Linked DNA regions of Homo sapiens: regions 1, 2 and 4 are each linked to region 3. The links are contacts of gene promoters, found by promoter capture Hi-C in blood cells and fetal thymus (Javierre and others, 2016). All regions are on one chromosome and are shown on one strand. Each heading gives the region's core, a stretch centred on a gene start or on the middle of the fragment in contact. The rest is flanking DNA. Distances are from core to core; before and after follow the strand shown.

What was found. Contacts are between HindIII fragments. The CHiCAGO score rates a contact against its expected background, and 5 or more counts as called.
Region 1: a contact is called between a fragment that was not itself captured here and the fragment with the promoter of SLC15A4 in region 3, in 1 of 17 cell types (M2 macrophages). The highest score is 8.9, in M2 macrophages.
Region 2: a fragment that was not itself captured here is called in contact with the fragment with the promoter of SLC15A4 in region 3 in 1 of 17 cell types (M2 macrophages); the score reaches 5.3 in M2 macrophages.
Region 4: a fragment that was not itself captured here is called in contact with the fragment with the promoter of SLC15A4 in region 3 in 1 of 17 cell types (M2 macrophages); the score reaches 7.6 in M2 macrophages.

Annotation. Positions count from the first base shown.
Region 1 is chr12:129,928,358-129,931,825 of GRCh38, forward strand. No RefSeq gene overlaps it. Among named protein-coding and RNA genes, the nearest start is that of TMEM132D, 26 kb to the left of the region's middle. The HindIII fragment of the contact is 1,756 bases long and covers 1,299-3,054 here.
Region 2 is chr12:129,997,798-130,001,113 of GRCh38, forward strand. No RefSeq gene overlaps it. Among named protein-coding and RNA genes, the nearest start is that of LINC02418, 43 kb to the right of the region's middle. RefSeq lists an enhancer at 1-74. The HindIII fragment of the contact is 6,986 bases long and covers 1-3,316 here.
Region 3 is chr12:128,822,501-128,825,899 of GRCh38, forward strand. SLC15A4 (solute carrier family 15 member 4) reads right to left here and starts at 1,458. Exons shown (of 8, transcript NM_145648.4): 1 at 898-1,458. The coding sequence starts at 1,443. LOC124903083 (a long non-coding RNA gene) reads left to right here and starts at 1,444. Exons shown (of 2, transcript XR_007063602.1): 1 at 1,444-3,390. RefSeq lists an enhancer at 1,209-1,368. The HindIII fragment of the contact is 5,029 bases long and covers 1-2,604 here.
Region 4 is chr12:129,948,586-129,952,044 of GRCh38, forward strand. No RefSeq gene overlaps it. Among named protein-coding and RNA genes, the nearest start is that of TMEM132D, 46 kb to the left of the region's middle. RefSeq lists an enhancer at 1,075-1,244. The HindIII fragment of the contact is 2,547 bases long and covers 97-2,643 here.

The DNA.
Region 1 (3,468 bases), core at 927-3,426, 1.1 Mb after region 3:
CCTGAGGTTAGGAGTTCAATACCATCCCGGCCAACATAATGAAACCCCATCTCTAATAAAATACAAAATTAGCCGGTCATGCTGATGCACACCTATAATCCCAGCTACTCGGGAGGCTGAGGCAGAAGAATCGCTTGAACCCAGAAGGCGGAGGTTGCAGTGAGCTGGGATCACGCCATTGCACTCCAGCCTGGGCAACAAGAGCAAAACCCTGTTTCAAAGAAAAAAAAGAAAAAAGGAAGAAAAAAAAGCCAGAGGCTGGAATGGCCATAGCCAATCGATTCATTTATGACCTTGGAACTCTCTTAACCCTTAATTTGCAATCTTGCTGTGAGAATGAAATCAGGTCATATTTCTAACTTGCATTGCACAGTATTTTACACACGGTCTATACCCCTCAAATGTGAATCTGCATTCTTAAAAAGAGGGCTAAAGTGCGGTTCCTGCTCTCAGGCAGCTTACAGTCTAAGAAACATTTTTGTAAGAAATGATGACATGGTCATTTTTCGATAATGACAACGGCCACATATGGATTGCAAAACATGTATAAAATCACTTACCTTAATAAAAGCTATTATCACAAATGAAAAGTAATCCAGAAAAAAATAAATATTGATCCAAAAAGCAATGAGAAAAGTGTTCTATTTCATTTAGGGATGGCTAATTAACTCCTGGCAGTCTTCAAAGGAAGTGAAAATGACACACAGCCTCAAAATAATTAAACTCCCCCCACCCCAAATTAAACAATCCCATGAATAATTCACTCTCAAATATGTTTTCTAAAACAAAAATGAAAAACAAAGGTCTGTTTCCCAAATGACATCAGACATGCACAGAAAGCTCCCAAGATATCAAATTAAATAAGCGCCATTAATAAATAATTTAATTGCTTTGGCTAATGTGTGAGGAAGCAGCGTTTGCATCCCAAAAGCTTGGGGGCCTTCAGAGAAGTAAGAAAAGAAAGAAATTCAGATCTCATGGGGGCACAGTTTATATTATAATAGTGTATGACTATAATCATTACATTTCCTTTTTATATTAAATTATTATCTAATAACAAAACATCTGGGTGCTAATGAGGTTTTCAAAAGTAATTTTTCTTTCATCGTGTCCATTCCATGCAGGCCTCTGAGTTTCAAGCAGGGAATTGAACTCAGGGCTTCCCAGGCCCCCACACGGTGAATGAATTCTCTTCTTCCTGCCTCCCTCCATCCCGCACTACCACTGCGGTTGCCTCAGACAGCTCCCCTGCCCCTCCCCTCCATGCTCTGCTCTGCCTCAGTGATCCCGACCCTTGAAGCTTGCTTTCTCCAGGATGCCTGGCCTCCTGGTCTCTGACTAGGTTGGCCAGTGAGGGTTTGGGCAGGGGACTGGAAGGCAGGAGGAGGGACGCCTCATGGGCGGCAGTTCTTGTTAAGGAGTGTCACTCTCTGACCTCACAGTGTCCTCTCCCTGTTTCCCTGTTGTTGTCCCTCCAGCCCTTGCATGGCACAGGCTCCCTGGTTTCCTCACGACCTCTGGCATTTCGGCTCTTCCAGTAATTCTCATTAGTGGCCCAGTTAAGTCACCCCTGAAGGCACCTGGCGTGGACTCAGTTTTCCAGGTCAGACTCAGACTAAGGTGCTGATCCACCTTCCTCTTCCCAATGCACTCATTCCCCAGTGCCTCCAAATGCCTGACAGCAGACCTCTCTAGTTCCTGCCCTCACAAAACCTGTGTTTCCCCTGAATTGTGTCACTCTACTCAAAGTGACCAAAGGAAAAAAAGCAGTTTGGTTCATATCACCATACGGTTGATAGGAAATACGAGCTTCAGGCATGGCTGGATTCAGGTGCTCAATGAACTTCTTTTTATCTCTGAACAAACCCCTTCCAGAGCAGCCCGGTAGCCTGGGTGTTGCGCTCTTGCCCACCCTGACCCCGGGCCACTTCATGGTGCTCAAGGTTGTCTTCCATCTCCTAGGTCACGGGGATCTCCTTCAGGTCGCTGCTCTTCCGCACGCAGACGGAAAACTTCATCTGCTGAAGCTCACACCTGTGGAGCCTCTTAAATTTTCACCTGTGAGACAACCCATCAGTTTTTTGAGAGCTGGTTCAATGTACCTCCTCTCTGCCATCATCTCCATGCTGGCTTTGGATCAGCCTCTGACAGGATGACTCAGGATGCCAGGTCTTCTTCTTTCCCTTGAATCCTTGCCCCTTAGAGGTTATGAACAGGGAGCTTTCGTTACAGCTTAAATACCAGGTTTGTGATCTTGGACACGTTACTTAGAAGCTCTGAGCTTGATCCAGTCTATCATTGTTGGACATTTGGGTTGGTTCCAAGTCTTTGCTATTGTGAATAGTGCCGCAATAAACATACGTGTGCATGTGTCTTTATAGCAGAAAATTTGGCACATATACACCATGGAATACTATGCAGCCATAAAAATGATGAGTTCATGTCCTTTGTAGGGACATGGATGAAGCTGGAAACCATCATTCTCAGCAAACTATCGCAAGGACAAAAAACCAAACACCGCATGTTCTCACTCATAGGTGGGAACTGAACAATGAGAACACATGGACACAGGAAAGGGAACATCACACACCGGGGCTTGTTGTGGGGTGGGGGGAGTGGGGAGGGTAGCATTAGGAGATATACCTAATGTTAAATGACGAGTTAATGGGTGCAGCACACCAGCACGGCACATGTATACATATGTAACAAACCTGCATGTTGTGCACATGTACCCTAAAACTTAAAGTATAATAAAAAAAAAAAGAAGCTCTGAGCTTGGTTTCCTCATTCTTGCACCAAATTGTTCCTGACTTCCTACAATGTAGAAAGGAAAGAGTAGCCCATGAGATGACACAAATCATGCCTCAAAGCAGTTAATATTCTAGCAAGCTAGATAAGTAGTCATAATTAGCCAGACTTGTGATGCTATTAATTATTCAATTATTATTGTAAGAATAAATACAAGAGAGAAATACAGGAACATATCACAGGAGAAAGAAGATAATGTTTTTCTTCTGAAGCCACCATATTCTCCCTCATATCTTAAAACATCAAAGCTTTTTGTCACTTGTTAATGAAGGTGAGAAACTCAGTTCTGTGTATTGCTGCCTAATGGCTGAATTTGGTGTATCTCTAAACAAACAAACAAATAAACCCCTCAACCTAATTTCCATCGTTAATTCTCTCTGTGAAGGGGCAGGACTGCAAATGGCAGGGGGGAAGAGCTCTTTCATAATGATTGACGTAAAGGCAATTTTTTAAATTTTTTAAAAAATAAGTGGGTCATCCTTCCTCTTCGCATCAAGAAAATTATTTAAGCCAAACATCAAATGTTAACTTTCGCCATTTAATGTTTCACTCACAAATGAAACTTTCATCATCCAACACAAACTGCGTAAGGAAAACGATAATTTGTTAAACCACGGAACTGAGAAGGCTCAGCTCTGTCTGTAGGGCCGGCTTCACCTG
Region 2 (3,316 bases), core at 702-3,201, 1.2 Mb after region 3:
GCGTCTCTTGACTCCTTGCCACATTGAAGAATTATCAATAAAATCAATAGCCAAACATTTGCTAAGGATGCTTCATGTGAACGTGTTTCAATTTCTTCTAATAGAAATCCTGTGAGATAGGCATGTGTGTTGTCCCCATTGACAGATAGGAAACAGGCTCAGAGAGAAGGTGATAAGACAAACTAGCAAGTTGAGAGGCAGGACTGGAAGTCAAATCTGCCTGACTGCAGAGCCTACATGTCTACTATTGTCTAAGATCTGACAAGCTCATTCACCCTTTTGTGATCACGCCATCTGCAACTCCTCCCAAGGCACAACATTGAAACCCACACAAGGAAGTTCCCGTGGTGACATTTCAAACATGAGGACCCATGTTTAAACAGAGAACATCTCTCTAATCTCACCAGCCCAGACCTGTCCTTACATAGAGAGTTGAGGAGAGAACTTCACAAGCCATAGTCTTTCAATACACACCCACCATCCAATCCCCATATATACCAATCTCTTTAATACCAATCTCAGTGTAATTAACTCCAGCCACTACAGCAGATGAGCCTGAAACCTCAGTGGCTACAATAAATGTTTATTTTGTGCTCACATCAGTGTCAAATGCAAGCCACCAGTTCACAAGGGCAGAGGTTCTCCAGTTGTGACTCAAGGATCCAAGCTGTTCCCTGTGGAACACATTGCTCCCAAGTTTTCAGTAGCAATGATAGAAATAATTGGAAAAACTTGTAAAATGTTTTAAAGCATGGAAATCAATTGCATCTACAATGAGCAACATCGATTTGCATTACTGCAGAGAGGAAACATTTGTGTTGCTCTCAGATAAGAATCACATGCACTGCTGTATTCTCTAAGTGAACTTCTACAGTTTTAAAATAGTTCAGTCAATAGAAAGCCAACCACAGAGGAACACCTAAGAGTTAATTTTTGCCTATTAAGTTTTAAATATTTTTTATAACAGATATAACATTGAATCCATACTGAGGTTATTCACTTTTTTTTTCTTTTCTTTTTTTTTTTTGAGATGGGAGACTCACTCTGTCACCCAGGGTGGAGTGCAATGGCGCAATTTTGTCTCACTGCAACCTCTGCCTCCCAGGTTCAAGCGATTCTCCTGCCTCAGCCTCCCGAGTAGCTGGGATTACAGGCGCCCACCACCACGTCCAGCTAATTTTTGTATTTTTCATAGAGAAGGGGTTTCACCAGGTTAGCCAGGCTGGTCTTGAACTCCTGACCTCAGGTTATCCACCCACCTCGGCTTCCTAAAGTGCTGGGATTACAGTCACGAGCAACTGCGCCCGGCCTGGTTATTCATTTTTTAATTGCTTTTCTAGTCTAATAAATTTTTTTTTTTTTTTTTTTTTTTTTTTGAGACGGAGTCTGGCTCTGTCGCCCAGGCTGGAGTGCAGTGGCGCAATCTCGGCTCACTGCAAGCTCCGCCTCCCGGGCTCACGCCATTCTCCTGCCTCAGCCTCCCCAGTAGCTGGGACTACAGGCGCCCTTCACCACGCCCGGATAATTTTTTGTATTTTTAGTAGAGGCGGGGTTTCACTATGTTAGCCAGGATGGTCTCAATCTCCTGATCTCGTGATCCGCCCGCCTCGGCCTCCCAAAGTGCTGGGATTACAGGTGTGAGCCACCGTGCCTGGCCTTATTCTGATAATCAAATCAACAAGGAAGTCTCCTTTGGGAACTTGGGAAAATTAAGGGCCAGGCCTAGAATGGATTACGTCACTTCTGCCCACATCTCATTGGACAGAATTAGTCATATGACCTCACCCAGGTCAGGGCGAGGAATAGAGATGTGAGTTGCTGTCTCCACAATGAAACTCAGAGAAATGTAAGTCAAAGGACTTGTAGAAGGCCTCTGCTTCTTTACTTGTAAAGTGGAGGGAGAGAATGGCTTCATCAAAGATTCCTATTTGGGAATATGCATCAAAATGACCCAGAGAGTTTTTTTGAAATTCGGATTCCTGGATGCTGCCCTAAAAGTTCGGACTTAAAATAATCAGGAATGAAGTTTTTGCATTTCTGATGCCAACACCCCTGCCCAGCCCTTCTCAGCATGACTTGGGTTGAGAACAATTAAACCAGGTGAGTTCTAAACCTTCTTCCATTTTTTATGTTCTTTAATTCTGGGGTGCTCTTTTGGATCTATAGGTAGAAAAACACAAAGAGAGGACTCACTCTCAGGGATATTAAAGAGCCACTTCTTTGTCACCAGGTTCCCAAAAGATAGAGGTGGGTCTTAGGACTCTGTATCTCTGCCTAGCAGAGCCTCATTGAGATTTCTGCATCTGCTTTCTCTGCTAATCATTCTCTGGACCTCATCTTGTTTTTACATTTTGCTCAATTCACCAAAACTCTGTGCAGCATCTTGGTGCAAGCATCCTACCTAGGAAACCGCCCTCCACCTCCTTGCCCATAGTCTTTTATAGGACCCAAAATCAATCTGCATCCCCCTATCATTTCGAACAGCTCCACAATTATCAATATGCATTTATCCTCTACATATAAAATATTGAAATGTCAATAACGCTTTGTTCTATAAAACACAAGGAGTGCTTACGTATTTTAAGGTTCATAAAACTTTACTTGAATTGATAGATAACTGGCATAAAGTTGATAATAGCAGTGGTGCTGAATCAGAAGAAAATTGTGATTTTTTTTTATAGTGACCTGAGACGTTCTTCCTTTTCCTAGAGAAATTAGCCTGTTCTCTTTGACATTATCTTTAGTGAAATTAAACTACAGGAAATAAATAAATAACTGAAAATAAAAACAAAAGGAAGGATGAGAGTCAGGAAGGGGATGCGAGGGGTTAACTTGGAGCTATTGAGTAAGAGGAATTGTCTGGTTCCTGGGTTCCAAGGAGCCCTCTCTGGAAAATATAACCTAAGAACTAAAGGACGAGAAGACCTGAGCACGAAGAGTGATGCATGGGTGGTGGGGGCATGTGGGTCACTTGCTCTCATTCCTTTCCATCCTCACCCTGTTAATAATAAGGAGGAATCATCTGCGTTCTGCTTACGTGATGCATGTGGGAGACATGAAGCCCACCTCCCACAAGCTGCCTTTCCAAACCGGGACAACACTGGTTCTCTGGAATAGGTGAGAGACCAGAAGAGAGTGCTGGCATTTGCCATCCATAAAAACTGGGGATTCATCAATGATAGACTGGATAAAGACAATCTGGTACATATACACCGTGGAATACCATGCAGCCATGAAATGGAATGACATCATGTCCTTTGCAGGAACACGGATGGAGTTAGAAGCCATTATCCTCAGCAAACTAATGCAGGCACAG
Region 3 (3,399 bases), core at 208-2,707:
CTTACAGGGCCTGAACATAGAAGGGTCCCGTTCATTTATTTTTTATTTATTTATTTATTTTTATTTGGAGACAGAGTCTCGCTCTGTCGCTCAGGCTGGAGGAGTGGAGTGGCGCGATCTCGGCTCATCGCACCTCTGCCTCCCGGGTGCAAGCGATTCTCCTGCCTCAGCCTCCCGACTAGCTGAGAGAACAGGTGCCCGCCACCACGCTCGGCTAATTTTTGTATTTTTAGCCAGGCTGGTCAGGCTGGTCTCGAACTCCTGACCTTAGGTGATCCACCCACCTCGGCCTCCCAAAGTGTTGGGATTACAGGCGTGAGCCACTGCGCTCAGCGTATTTTTTAAATTTTATTTATTTATTTTTTTGAGGTGGGGTCTCACTCTGTTACCCAAGCTAGAGTGCACTGGTGTGACCCTAGCTCACTGCAGCCTCCGAAACTCGTAGGCTCAAGGAATCCTCCTTTCTCTGCTAGGACTACAGGTGTGCGCCTCCACGGAGGGCAAATTTTTAAATTTTGGTAGAGATGAGGTCTCACTGTGTTGCCCAACCTGGTCTCAAAGTCCTGGGCTCAAGAGATCCTCCCGCCTCGGCCTCCCAAAGTGCTGGAATTACAGGCGTGAGCCACCGCGCCCGGCCTCTCTTTTCTTTAAAGCCACTGTGGCCATCACTGTGTGTGTAGACCTCACCCCGCCCCAGGCAAACCCCTTCCAGCACCCATCACACCGGTACCTCCAGTCTTGGCCCACCTGCTGGCGGGATTCCTCGGCACTAGACAGAAGCCCCCCGGGGCAAGGGGCTCCCTCCGCGGTCAGAGGCAGGGACTGGGGCAGGGGAAGAGGCTGGGGCTGGGCAGGGGCTGGACAGGGACAGGGACAGCGCGCGGGGGCGCGGCTCACCTGGTCGGCGCCGAAGGGCGTGATGTTGGCCTTGACGGTGGCCACGCCCAGGCCCACCAGCACCAGCCCCGCGAAGGTGGCCGGTGAGCAGCAGCGGGCGGCGGCGTCGGGACCAGGCGCCGTGCAGTTGAGCAGGCGCGCGGAACCGCAGAGCGCGGCTCGCGTGGCGGGCGCGGCCAGCAGCGGGAAGGCCAGCATGCCCAGCAGGTAGAGCGCCAGGCTCAGCAGGATGGCGCGCGCCCGGCCCAGCCGCGCGTCGGCCAGCCAGCCTCCGAACGGCGAGCCCAGGTAGGTGAGGCCCATGAAGAGCAGCAGCGCCTCGCTGGCCTGCGCGCCCTCCCAGCAGAACGGCGCCCCGTTCAGGAATAGCACCAGGTTGGACGTGATGCCGTAGAAAGCGGCGCGCTCCAGCAGCTCCGTCAGCAGCACGGCCCCGCACGCCGCGCGCCGGCCCGCGAACGCCCCAGCCGCCGCCGCGGCCGCCGCCGCCCGCCGCGCGCCCAGCAGCGGCGCCCGCTCGCCCGCACCGCCCCCAGAGCCCTCCATGCGACGCCGCCAGCTGCCTCGCCCCGCCGCCGGGTCACCTGTCCCAGAACCCAGGGCCGCCGCCCTTCTCGCGAGACTGCCGGGCCTGAGATGTCCCTATTGGGCGGGCTCGCCGCTGCTCAACGCCCCACTCGCCGGAACTTCCGGCCCCGCCCCGGGCACTAGGCGAGGAGGTGGCCGGTATTCTGGATCACTGCGTGTCTTGGGGAGCTTGGGATTCCGCAGCTTGGCGGCCGAGAGCCTTTGTTTGCCTTTTTGAGACAGGGTTTCCCTCTCTCGCCCAGGCTGGAGCGCAGTCATGCGGTTACGCCTCACTGCAGCCTCAGCTTCCCAGGATCAAGCGGCCCTCCCACCTCAGCCTCCCGGGTAGCTGGGACCGCAGGCGCTCGCCGCTGCCTGTGGCTAATTTTTAAACAGTTTTTTGAAATGGGGTCTCGCTTTGTTGCTCAGGTTGGTCTCGAACTCCTGGCATCAAGCGTTCCTCACGTCTCAGCCTCCCATAGTGTTGGAATTACGTGCATGAGCCACTGCAGGCAGTCGGACTAAGGGAGTTTAAACAAAGAAGCCGGAGCCTGGCCCTCTTCGGGCTTCGGTGGGGCCCAGTAGGCAGCCAAAACTCACACTGAGACGGCGGCTGCTCTCCAGGCGGGTTTGCTCAGGCTGCCCCCGTGCTCCCTGCCCTGGGCTTCAGTCCTGGAGAGGACCCGGTTTCTCAACCCGTGCATCGTTGGCACTTTGAGCGACGGGACTGTCCTGTGCGTTGCACGATGTTCAGCAGCAGCTTTGGCCTCTGCTATCCACTAGGGGCCAGTTCCACCCCCTAGCACCTCAGGTTAACAACCGAAAATGTCTTCTAGACTTTGCCGAAGGACTCCTGGGGGCAAATACGCCCCCATTGAGACTCACTGGCTTAGAACAAGGCAAGCTCCAGCCTGTTTCAGGCTTTCCCAGAGACTGCCCCTACACCATCTATGGTTGCATGGCTGGCTTCTCATCCTTCAACCTTCCACCGAAGTGTTGACTTCAGAGAAACATTTTTTTCACTAGCCTGTCCAAGGCCCGAGTATCCCATTCCATCATGTTACTCTTTTCTCCTTATTACCTGTTACATTTTTTAATTTATTCGTTTATCTCCCCAACCTGCATGTGTTAACAGGTGTAAGCTTCCTGATGGCAGGATTCTCTTGTGTTTTGTTCCTCACTGTGCCCCCTGCCTCTGGGACAGCGCCTGGCACATAGTGGAGTGAAAGAGTGCCGCCCAAAAATGGCCCTCAGCATGGCTTCAGAAATTGAGACCCCGGCCTGGGATGGTGGCTCACGTCTACAATCCCAGCACTTTGGGAGGCCGAGGCGGACGGATCACGAGGTCAAGAGATCGATACCATCCTGGCCAACATGGTGAAACCCCGTCTCTACTAAAAATACAAAAATTAGCTGGGCGTGGTGGCAGGCGCCTGTAGTCCCAGCTACTCAGGAGGCTGAGGCAGGAGAATCGCTTGAACCAGGGAGGCAGAGGTTGCAGTGAGCCGAGATTGTGCCACTGCATTCCGGCCTGGTGACAGAGTGAGACTTCGTCTCAAAAAAAAAAAAAAAGACAAAAAAAAAAGAAATTGAGACCCCGGCCTGGGATGATGGCTCACGCCTATAATCTCAGCACTTTGGGAGGCTGAGGCAAGAGGATTGCTTGAGCCCGGGAGGTAGAGGCTGCATTCAGCAGTGAGGGCATCACTGCACTCCAGCCTGGGTGACATAGTGAGACCCTGTCTCAAAAAAAAAAAAAAAAAAAGGCAAGAAAGAAAGGAATCGTGATCCACAGCTGCTGCAATGATTCAATTAGTGTAAGACCACCTCCTCTTCCTTCATCATTCCCTCCAGCTAAGATGAGGGTGGAGCCAGTAGCTGGGAAGTTGGCTTGCCAGTAGGTCATCTGGAGAAGTAATCCTGCCAGTAAGTCTT
Region 4 (3,459 bases), core at 120-2,619, 1.1 Mb after region 3:
TTCCAATCATCTGACATACTTTATTTGATTTTTGCAACTCAGTGAGGTAGGTAATGCTATTTTTCCCATTTAAAGATAAGGAGACTGAAGGCAGAAAGCTTAAGTAACTTCCCAGGGTCACCTAAGTAGAAAGTGTCAGGACAGGAATCCCAGGCAGGCTTTCTAGCTCTTGAATCTGTGCTCTGAGCTGCAATGTCATCCTGTCTCTTGCAGGGCGTCATCTGGTTGTATCTAACCAGGTGCATGAGACCGTGATCATCCCATAAACCAAATAACATACAGCTTAGGAATGTTTCTCTTCAATTCTTTTTTATTATCCAGTTCCCTTTCTATTGGAAAGTAGAAATAAGTGAGGCAGGTGGACTTAGAAGTCGTTTGCTGAAATTGGCCATGTGATGGCAGGGCATGGTGGCTCATACTTGTAATCCCAGCACTTTGGGAGGCCGAGGTGGGTGGATTGCATGCGCCCAGGAGTTCAAGGCCAGCCTGGGCAACAGGGCGAAACCCCATCTCTACAAAAATACAAAAATTAGCTGTGTGTGGTGGTTTACGCCTGTAGTCCCAGCTACTTGGGAGGCTCAGGTGGGAGAATCACTTGAGCTTGGGAGGTTGAGGCTGCACGGAGCCTTGATTGCACCACTGAGCTCCAGCCTGTGGAGTGACAGAGCCAGACTTTATCTCCAAAACACAAAAATAAAAAATTGGCCAAGTGAGAATGGGTTGGAGAACCCACAGCTCCTCTTCACTGGAGTCTCACCTTGCTTTGGGTGGCTTTGCTTGGCTTCCTTGGCAAACAGCCAGGTTCCAGTTCCTCCCTACAGTCCTTTCTTCCTGGAAAGCAATGGTTGCATTTTTCCATCCTGGGAAAGGTCCCAGGGCTCCCAAGAGCAGAGCAGTTGAATCACTGGGCCCAGACAGGCAGTAGTGCCTTCTCACTTCCTGAGGCTCACCGCTTCCCTTCTATGGATGAGAAAGGGGGACCCAGGGCCAAAGGGCTTCTCCCCAGGTCACCGTCTCACTCCCCTGGTGCCTGATAATTAATTCAGCAGCTGGAGCTCCTGTTACCACCAAAGATTCATTGAACTCTTCCACGTGGAGCTTGCAAGTCAACTGACAAGACACCTTGAGCTTCCCCCAGATGTTCGCATCCCAGGGTTCCGTCATTAGGCGGGACGAGCTCCGTGCTTATTAGTAGAAAAAAGAGCAATCCACTGAAAGCCGCAGCACCATCTGGAGGAAAATCGATGTCTCTATATTTAGGCCAGATGGGAGCAGCGTCAACGGAACCGAGCGGCACATGTTTGTACCAGTATGTGCCAACAGCACGCGTGACACCCCACATCTCATTTCATTATTTACCAACTTAGAAAAATAACGTGTAAGCCAGGCTACAGGCAGGGCCTGTTTATTGAGAATATGGACAGCAGCCCATGCAAATGACAATGTGAGACGTGACAGCAAACACCACCAACAGACAGTTACTGCCATACTATTGCAACTAAAACGCAATTTTTGGATTCTGTCTGGAGCTCTGTTTTAAGGCATGACTCCAGTGGCCAGTTTTTGCTTCCATAAATGAAGGGATGTTTTGTGCCAGACGTCATTGTCCTTCTGGCCCTCAATGGGGCCATTTAGAGCTTTGTGTCTGTTGTGTGAATGTTTATCTAAGCCCCAACTATTCTGGAGATATTTGTTAATTTATCCTGCATTCAATGCAAGAAATATTAATATGAACTATGAGTGAGGGAGCATTGCTAAGTGGACCACTGTATTTTTTTCTGTTCAATATTCATTGCCTGTATTTCTGGCAAAATAGTGTGTCAGTCTCTTTCTGGCAGGTTCACACCAACCATCATCAGGTCACATGAATGGGTTTCTTCATCCCTTGCATTAGAGGTGGTTATTGTGTCAGCCCATCAAAGCATCCCATTGCCTTAGCCATGGTGGGTTTAGTCATGTTGCATGGCCCAATGAGAGCTAAACAGGTGCAGTGAGACTTGTGCTGAGCTTTTAGGAGTGAGGCAGGTTCTTTCTTTGTCCTGAAGGGGAGAACATGTAGAGTTCTCCCCTGCAGCAGCCATCTTGTGACAATGAGGAGCATTTGGGGGAAATCAGACTCTGATGCTATTTTTTCCGTGCTCGTAGATTGAACCATACATAATATGAAGATGATCCATGGAGTTTCCAACTGTATGAACCACAAAAATCTCCTTTTCTTCTTATGCCAGTTGGAGTCAAGTCTCTTATGCAATGGAGACTTGTCTCCATTAGAAATTTCCAATGGAAATTTGAGCACCAGCCCAGTGATCAAAATATTCCTCCATAAGCAAAATAACTCTTGATATTAGTCAACTATGGATGGCCAACGTCAAAGAAAATAAATTATTCTGACACTTGTTAAAAATGATAGAAAAGGGGCCAGGCACAGTGGCTCATACCTGTAATCCCAGCACTTTGGGAGGCCAAAGCAGGGAGGATCATTTGAGTGCAGGAGTTCAAGACTAGTCTCGGCAACATAGTGAGACCCCGACTCTTAAAAAAAAAATACAAAATATTAGCTGAGTCAGGCATTAGCCTAGGACCAAAGTGAAGTCTGTGAGGGTCTGCCCTGGCCCTTGAGCTGAAGATATGATGGGAGAGACAAGCTTACCTTCCCAATGCTGATTTGAATGAGCCAGCAGAAAGACAACCAGAAGTGGCAATCACAATTTGTTCTCCTGAGAGACAGCCTGTCTTAAAATGAAGCCCGCATGAGGAAAGCAGTACTGAGGAATAGACAGTAGCACAGGTTTCTAACCACATCTTATGAGCCTCCAATTCCTACCCTCCCTAAAGCCAGGACTTTCTGAAGTCTACACTTCCCATTAAGTGAACAAGTGGATGATTATTTATTAAGCAAACTAGAGTTCATTGTCTATCATTTGAAAGTGAAAAGATTTTATTCGTCAACACATGAATATTTCAAAAAACTCAATAGTAACCTTAGATTTAGGATGATCAACTGGGCTGGTTTGTCCCTGAATCCTCTAAGTTTAGTGCTGGAAAATCTCACATCCTAGGAAACCTCTCAGTCCTGGAATATCAGGATGGTTGGGTCCCCCCTAGGTCAGCCTGTTAAAAAAGGTTAAGGAAAACTGATTTTCACTTTACTGCAGGTGTGTATGTGGATAAAATGAAAACCAGAATCAGCTAGGATTCACTGAGCACTTATCATGTGGCAGATGTTCTGATTAGAACTTCTCATATGCTACTTCAGATACACATGACAGCCTTGGAGAAGGGAATCTTAATATTACTCCCATTTTGCAAATGAGGAAATTGAAACACAGAGAGATTAAAAAATAAAGTTCTTAAAGATGTGCAACTTGTCCTGTTCTTAAACTGCTGGTTTCTCTAGAACACATTAAATGGAAGCAGATGATCAATAGCTTTGACCAGAAACTTCAGAGTGTTGGTGGT